Regions from separate parts of the Homo sapiens genome. Here regions 2 and 3 are each linked to region 1. Evidence: promoter capture Hi-C in human tissues and cell types (Jung and others, 2019). All regions are on one chromosome and are shown on one strand. Each heading gives the region's core, a stretch centred on a gene start or on the middle of the fragment in contact. The rest is flanking DNA. Distances are from core to core; before and after follow the strand shown. Region 1 holds the start of RABEPK (Rab9 effector protein with kelch motifs). Region 2 overlaps MVB12B (multivesicular body subunit 12B). Region 3 overlaps MVB12B (multivesicular body subunit 12B).

Region 1 (2,565 bases), core at 26-2,525:
GTAGCAGGGATTACAGGCGCCCACCACCACGCCTAGCTAATTTTTGTGTTTTTAGTTGGGGGGGGGGGCGGGGGCGTTCACCATGTAGGCCAGGCTGGTCTCGAACTCCTGACCTCGTGATCCGCCCGCCTCGGCCTCCCAAAGTGCTGGACTTATAGGCGTGAGCCACCGCGCCCAGCCTATGATAGAAATCTTATTAGCTCCATGGTTACAAACAGACAACCCTGAGGCCTGGAGGAAAGTAACTTCAGAACAGATACTCTCCTGGCTGAACTTTATATTTATTGCACTCTTGGCAGTCGTCCCTAGTTGTCTTTTTCTTTGATCTCTCTCTAGTTAAGACTTGCTCCTGGAGGCAAAGCGTGGTGGTGTCTGGCTCAGCATAGCACCTGCCATAATTACAAATGGCAATTATGGAATGAATCAGCTGTTTAAAGCACCAAATCTTGAGCTGGCCCGAAGACTGCGCAGGAGGATTGCATGCTCAACTCTCCCCTTTAGAAACTGTTAACAATCGTTGTGGCCGGGCGCGGTGGCTCACGCCTGTAATCCCAGCACTTTGGGAGGCCGAGGCGGGTGGATCATGAGGTCAGGAGATCGAGACCATCCTGGCTAACAAGGTGAAACCCCGTCTCTACTAAAAATACAAAAAAAATTAGCCGGGCGCGGTGGCGGGCGCCTGTAGTCCCAGCTACTCGGGAGGCTGAGGCAGGAGAATGGCGTGAACCCGGGAAGCGGAGCTTGCAGTGAGCCGAGATTGCGCCACTGCAGTCCGCAGTCCCGCCTGGGCGACAGAGCGAGACTCCGTCTCAAAAAAAAAAAAAAAAAACAATCGTTGTAACTGGAAATGTAACTGTTATACCCTCCCCCCCTTTTATTTATTTATTTTTTTGAGAGGGAGTTTTTGCGCTGTTGCCCAAGCTGGAGTGTGGTGGCGCCCAGCCCTGTTAGCCCCTTACAGAGTAGATCAGCTGCCGCAGGCATCTGAGTTCCCCAAACGGACGCCCGAACCCGGCATTGCGCAAATCGTTTCCAAGTAGCCCCGGCTTATTTATCCCGTCCGGGAGGGAGGGACCCAGGGAAGGCCCACCCCACTTGGTTCCCGAGAAATGCAGAGCCTGGCGTCCACTCCCGGTCTGGGGGACCCCTCCACCGCCAGCCCAGGAAGTCAGCGCCGGGCCCTCGGGGCGGAGCAGGGAAGAGGGAGCGGTTGGCCCGGACGCTCTTCCGGGTCCTGGGAGGAGGGCCCGGACCTAAGCCCCGCCCCTCCGGGGTGGAGTCACGGCTCGCGACTGGCCTAAGTCGCCGCAGGTATTGCAGTCCGGGGCTGGAGGGTAGGGGCGAGGGTCCCCGGATACCGGGTCTATCACGGTCTCGGGCAGGGAGTCTGAATCTTTTAGGGGAGTGGGCCCAAGCCGGGTGCAAAGAACGGGGAAGGGCCTTCCCTGGCTCCGTCCCGGCCACTTTGACCGAATCAGCCTGTTCTTTCCCGACCCCGTCTCCTATCCCCTAGAACTGCCACGTGGGGATGAGATTTGCTGGGCTGGTAGCGGCGGCTGCTGCGGGAGGTCCCGCCCACGTGAAGCCAGCCTAACTGAGCTCTGGACTTTGGGGACAGCTGTCAGTGGCCTAGGCCGCAGGTGAGATTTATCCATTCATCTCTCAATCTATTTTCTTTCTTCATTCACTAGCCACTCCCCCACTTCTACTCCATGCCAGGTCCATTGGTAGGTTCTCGGAATGGATCTGACAGGCCCAGCCCTCTAGGAACTTAGTCTAGTGGAATTTAATCTAGAATCTAGTCTAGAAGCCTTAAATAGATAAACATTCCAAATGATTCCTGCAATGGTGATGGCTAATACCTTCAGAGCCCAGTGGGTGGAAGAAGGAAGTAACTTGGATGTGGGTGGAAGAGAAAAGGGCAAATCAGGGAAGGTTTCACCAGGGAAGGGACTTTTGAACTGGGCTTTGAAGGTTAACTAGGAGTTTGCAAATTTCCCAGAAGGGAAGCGACATTCCAAATAGGGGAAGCAGAACAGGCTGCAAAATTATGAAAAGGCCTGCCATATTACAAGAACAGCAAAAAAACCAATAATGCAAGAGATTGTGGAGGTGAGTTCACGGGAAAAAAGCTCAACAGCAGAAGGCCTTACTTTCTATGCTATGTTGAGGCCAAGATTTATCCCAGAGCTCAGTATTTCTCAGCTTCTTTAAATATTTTGTCCTTTGAGCGGAGAGCAGTGGCTCACACCTGTAATCCCAGCTTTTTAGGAGGCTGAGGTGGAAGAATTGCCTGAGGCTAGGAGTTCGAGACCAGCCTGGACAACAAAGCGAAACCTCCATTTCTATTTTTTTTTCTTTTTTTGAGGAGGAGTCTTGCTCTGTCGCCAGGCTGGAGTGCAAGTGGCGCAATTTCGGCTCACTGCAACCTCCGCCTCTTGGGTTCAAGCAATTCTCACGCCTCAGCCTCCTGAGTAGCTGGGACTACAGGCGTGGGCCACAACGCCCAGCTAATTTTTTTTGTATTTTTAGTAAAGACAGGGTTTCACCATGTTGGCCAGGATG
Region 2 (2,565 bases), core at 26-2,525, 1.2 Mb after region 1:
CCATTTGCTTGGTTTCCGAGTTCTAAGAAAGGAGATCCATCTCTGGTCATCATGTGGAGTTCAGGGTTCATTCTGGAGGGCAAGATGATGTCTCCTTCACTGGTGTGTGCCTGATGCCCAATGCCCAGCCCAGGGCCTAGCATACAGGGGATGTTCCATGACACTCAATGTTTCGTTGATTCTGAGAGGACCTGGGTCTTAGAACTGGTTCACCCTTTTGTATCCACCCTTTCCAGCTACATTACTTTAGACAGTTTATATAACATTGCAGTCTGTTTTCTTTTTTTTTTTGTAATTTTGAATTATATTTTCTCTTCTGAATTTGAGGATTAAAGATAATGTACATGAAATACCCAGTGCCTAGTACCAAGAGGGCACTCCAGAAGTGGAGCTGCTATAACTGCCGTAAATATTGTTATTCCAGGGAATTGCTGCTTATTATACCAGAAGGCACTGGTCTCATTCACCCTGCAGTGTGACCTCACCTAAAAGTCCAGCCGGGGATGGAGAGGGTGCAGCTGACAGAGGGAGCTCATGAATGGTGGGACCTGGCATGGCTCAGGGAAACTTTTGGCATAATAGAAGGCAAACCCTCCCTTCTAGTTCAGAAATGTGTAATTGCTGGAGATGTTAGCTTGCTACTGGGTAAAATGATTTTAAAGAGAGAACTTCTCAACATTTAAATCAGCCTCAATTTTCCATGTTCCTTTTCATCAAGTCAGCTCTGGTTTGAGAAGGGATCATATCGGCACTCAACCCTTTAAATGATTTTCCTTCTTTGCCTTTCTTTTTCTTTCTCTTTGGCCTTGGCTCCTTCCTTTCCAACCACTCCCCTCCCAGAACCTCTTATTTTAGCCAAAAAAAAAAAAAAAAAGTTTCTTTCCTTGCTCCAGAATCACACCACCCACCGAGCACATCATCTGGAAGTCCCCTGTCCCTGAGCTCACTTGCTGCCAGGCCGGCGGCACCCAGAGGCTCGAAGGCCACAGGGGCACACCGTCTTTTCTCAGGGTTGGAGAGAGTAGATTAGACAACATCCTCAGATGTCCCGTCTCATGGCAGGTCACTGCCACTGTGAAGGGTACGGCTGTAGATGCGGGGGGACTGCTTGTTTCTTCAGGCTACATTTTTTAAAAAGAGATCATACCTTTTCTTTGGATTTAATGAGGACAGACATTTTAATCAGAGGTTAGTCATTTATTTTTGCAAACTATTGTTTTGATTCATCATTTTTGCAGATAATTAAATGGTTCAGTTGGCACAGTATGTCTACTTTATTAAAACAGGTAATTTTGGGGAAAAAAAGAGATGCTGTTTTTTGGATCACTGCACAAGAATTGCTTTTATCTTCATCTTTGAGCATAGTTTCTGGTTATTTTGCCAGGAGGCTCTCTCGTGTTCGGGCATTTGGGGTCCTTTCTGGTCTGGAGGGGCTTGCCCTTTGATGATTGGGATGTTAGCAGATACGCCCTTTGAAACGGGAGCTGAAGAGTAAATTCTGTGCAGCCGCCTTTTAGGAACACTCTTAGGTTTTAATTGGATTGGGAAAAAGAACCTACAAGTTATGAACTTTGCAGAGCAGCAGTTCTTATGCTAAAAACAGATTAATTGTAGCCCTCGCAGTGGGTGGAGTTTCAAAGTCAATTACTGCTTGTCCTATTATAATTTACACACACAGGATTTGAAAAAGTCTGCCACTTAGTATAAAAGTGAAAAGGTTACGTGTACTAGTTTGAGTATACCTATGACTTTTCATTTGTAAATGCTTTAGCTACATGTATGTGTATGTATGCAACTTGCAGCTGTGGAGCTGTAACTACATCTGTGAGCAAGATTCCTTATGAAGAGTAACCTTTAAGGTCTGGTTCCTTAAATCCGTAGTGGCTCAGCATATAGTCCTTTGTCTGGCAGTCCAGTCCACTTGTGGGCACAGTGGCTGGCCCCTGCAGAGCCTAAGGGGCACTCCACTCATGAGTCATGAACTAGTAAGGGAATGGCCCTTCCTGGGTCAATTTTTTAAAAGCGAATTGCTCACAACATTTGCTTTCTTTAATTTTTTCCATGTTTGTGTCCTGAATCAGTTAATTTACTCATTAAAAGAATTTATTTTAGGTGGACCAATTAAAACTTTGGAAGCTAATTTTTTGCTGAGCAGAGCAGACCTCTGAAAACACAATTTATAACATGGCTTCTGCCCTTCCACAGAGAGCTGTCTTATGGTACTGTAACCTCTGGTGCTTGCAGAAGTACAAAATTGCTGTTCTTTGTCCTCCAGCTCTGGAGCTGAGCTGCCGTGTGGGTGGGTTTCTCGAGCCTTCCCATTGTTTTAGGGTGAACAGGCAAGTCTGAAAAGTCCAGCCCAGCCCAGGAGTGGCATGCTGTATTTGTTTGCTTGCGTAAACTCCATAGTTTAATTTTTTTTAATAGGAAGCTGCTATGTAGTTCGGATATTTAAACAGTTATTAACCGAATGACAATTAACAGATTGCATAGACAGATTTTCTTTTGAAAACCTCTGAAATTGAGTACAGTTTGCAAAACTATCACGGCATAGTAATGACAATG
Region 3 (2,565 bases), core at 23-2,522, 1.2 Mb after region 1:
GATGAGGCCGGGTGATATATTGAGGACCCCCAGCCCAGGTCCTGGCAGGTGGGGCTCCATCCCACGCTGGGGAACTGGAATCTCATCTCGCCAGAGACCCAGCTGATGGCAGAGCCTTCATCCTTGTCTCTCACTTTCAGGCTAATCTGACACCAAAGCACTCCTGGGCCACTTCTCCTTCGGCAGGTGACTTGTCCTGTTTAACCACAGGTAATCTGTCCCTGGGGCCCAAACTGTTCATTCTCATTAATGGGAAGCCTTGATGTGCCTTTCTGTCCTGTCCCCATGTCCCCTGCTTCCTGTGTCCAGGAGTAGTGGAAGCAGAAATGCAGGGGAAGCTATTTGCCATGTAGGGAGGAGCCCTTCTCCCTAAAGCTTTCTCTGCCCAGGGGGCCTTCTCACCTGCTGCTCTCTGACTGCTGTCCCTTACCCACTCTTGCATCAGCTACTTTAGCTGGAGTATTCAGTAACCTGATTTCAATTCAGCAGATCCCTACTGAGCAGTTATTCTGCAGAAAATACAGTCAGCCTGTGACTTGAATCCTCTTTTAATTTCACATTTGCTGCATCAGGCACACATTGTCTATCATATATGAACAGAAACCTTCTTTTTTTTCCCTTCTTGTAAATTCCTGGTTGCTGCTGCTGCTGATTTCTTCTTACCCATACCTGGTTTCCTCCATAATGGAGAGAGGTGAGATTCAGGGTATAAAACAGAGACCCCTGGAGCCTAATTAATTGGGAAAATACACACAGGGAGAAATGAAATGATAGAGACTAACAGCAGTTCATGTCAAAAAAGAAACCCAGGAGTTTTAGTGAGCCAACTACAACACTTGATTTGGTCAACAAATGGTCAGTAATTGTCTACCCTGTGACAAAAAATTGTCCCAGAAAATGAAGTACAAAATTGATGATATTTGGCCCTGCTCTTGAGGAGGTCACAATCACATTAGGGAACAGGTTTATATCAGATGACCAAAGTGTACTGTGATACCTGGAGTGGGGTGAGAGAAGACACTCAGGCATCCAATCCAGTCTGGGGCAAGCCCAGGAAAGGTTTTTCCAAAGAGGGCATGGTTGGGTGGGATCTTGAAGTATGAATAGGAGTTTGGAGAGTCGGTAAGGAAGAATGGAGATTCCTAGGAAGAGGGAGTGGCATGGATAAAGAATCAGGCCTAGGCATGAGAAAAACAAGGCCTGTTCAGAGATTAACAAGACTTCCACTCTTTCTGGAGGAGAGGGGAAGTAAGTAGTGGCAAGAGGCAGAATCTGGAAGGTGGGCTGGTGTGCCGGGGATGTGTAAGTGTACAGAGTGAGAAGACAGCTAAGCCAGCACCCTTGCAAACAGCAACCTTGCAAAGTTTGGAGACGAAGTGGGAGTTGGCGGGGTGGGGGGTGGTGGGCAGAAAGAATCATCTCCAACGAGGGAAGAGAACCTGGGGCGGGGGTTGAGTTGCAGAGCAAGCCAGGCAAAATCTGAGGCCCCGAGGGACAAGAAAGTTTGGTCCCGGACATCAGTATTGCATGGAGCAGCTGAAGAGCTGGGCCCCTTGATTTCTCTGTTGTTCATATACTTTTTTGTGGTTGTTATTGCTCATATATTTCTTTTAAGTCCTAAATTTCCCCAAAACTATCCATTTAGAGGGTCTGTGGCAAGTCATGTCGACAGGAATGAAGTCTCTGCACAAAGTAGATAGTGAATAATTGTAGGCTCATGATCATTTCCTGCTACCATTCCCATCCACATTGGCGCCTTAGTTTTATTTCCTCACTCTCCCACAGACGGGCAAGCTTTTGAAATTGTAAATTGGATGTTGGCACATTTCTGCTTAAAAATCATTCCAGAGAAAGGCAGAACCCATGCTGGGCTCCACGTGGCCTGGCCCCACCGTCTTCCTGGCCTTCTAGGCATGGCCACCCTGGCTTCCTCCTAAGTCTGGAGGAGGTCAGACTCCCCACGGAGCCTCGAGTGCTCACCCCTCCTCCCTGCTGCATCTCTCTGATTTCTGCCTATCTTCAGTTCCCACCTCAATGTACCTTCCTCCAGGAAGCCTTCCAGGGAGCCTTCTCCTACCCTGCCCTTCCTAGCACTTGAGTCTTCCCGCCTTCCATAGGAAATGATCACACTTGTAAGCAAGTGTTCAGGTAACTTTATGGATATTTTCGTGTCCCCCTGCCTGTCCTGCCACCACTGAGTCCCCCACAGATCTGTATTGATGCATATTTGACCACCCAACAGCTCGGCTGGCCCCATTTTCTCCTCTGCCTCCTGGCTGGCCTCTTTGCCATCATCCATGTCCACCTGGCTCCCAAAGTTCTGCTAATGCTCCTGCCTCCTCTGTGAGCCTCCCTGAATGCTTCTAGCTCCTGGAGTGTTTACCGCACTGCACAAATCGCTCTGCATCCTTAGTTAGGTTGCGTGCACCTTTTTAGGGCTTTGGAGGCTTAGAAATCTTAGTCTGGCAGCCATGAAGCAAAATACTTCCCTGGCTCCTGGAAATTCCCTCATTGGTATAGTGAGTGCAGTTATAGCACCTACCCTGGATCCTTTTAGTCACACAC

What was found. Contacts are between HindIII fragments. The study calls those that stand out against the background at their distance.
Region 2: a fragment that was not itself captured here is called in contact with the fragment with the promoter of RABEPK in region 1 in 1 of the 25 tissues and cell types used here (dorsolateral prefrontal cortex).
Region 3: a fragment that was not itself captured here is called in contact with the fragment with the promoter of RABEPK in region 1 in 1 of the 25 tissues and cell types used here (hippocampus).

What each region holds. Positions count from the first base shown.
Region 1 is chr9:125,199,267-125,201,831 of GRCh38, forward strand. RABEPK (Rab9 effector protein with kelch motifs) reads left to right here and starts at 1,276. Exons shown (of 8, transcript NM_005833.4): 1 at 1,276-1,640. LOC105376271 (a long non-coding RNA gene) reads right to left here and starts at 1,130. Exons shown (of 2, transcript NR_135145.1): 1 at 960-1,130; 2 at 267-389. RefSeq lists a silencer at 1,154-1,203. The HindIII fragment of the contact is 10,811 bases long and covers 1-2,565 here.
Region 2 is chr9:126,434,802-126,437,366 of GRCh38, forward strand. The region is part of intron 7 of MVB12B (multivesicular body subunit 12B); the gene reads left to right. Among named protein-coding and RNA genes, the nearest start is that of NRON, 26 kb to the left of the region's middle. RefSeq lists an enhancer at 1,320-2,565. The HindIII fragment of the contact is 5,330 bases long and covers 1-2,565 here.
Region 3 is chr9:126,416,777-126,419,341 of GRCh38, forward strand. All of the region lies in intron 6 of MVB12B (multivesicular body subunit 12B), which reads left to right. Among named protein-coding and RNA genes, the nearest start is that of NRON, 7.6 kb to the left of the region's middle. The HindIII fragment of the contact is 5,681 bases long and covers 1-2,565 here.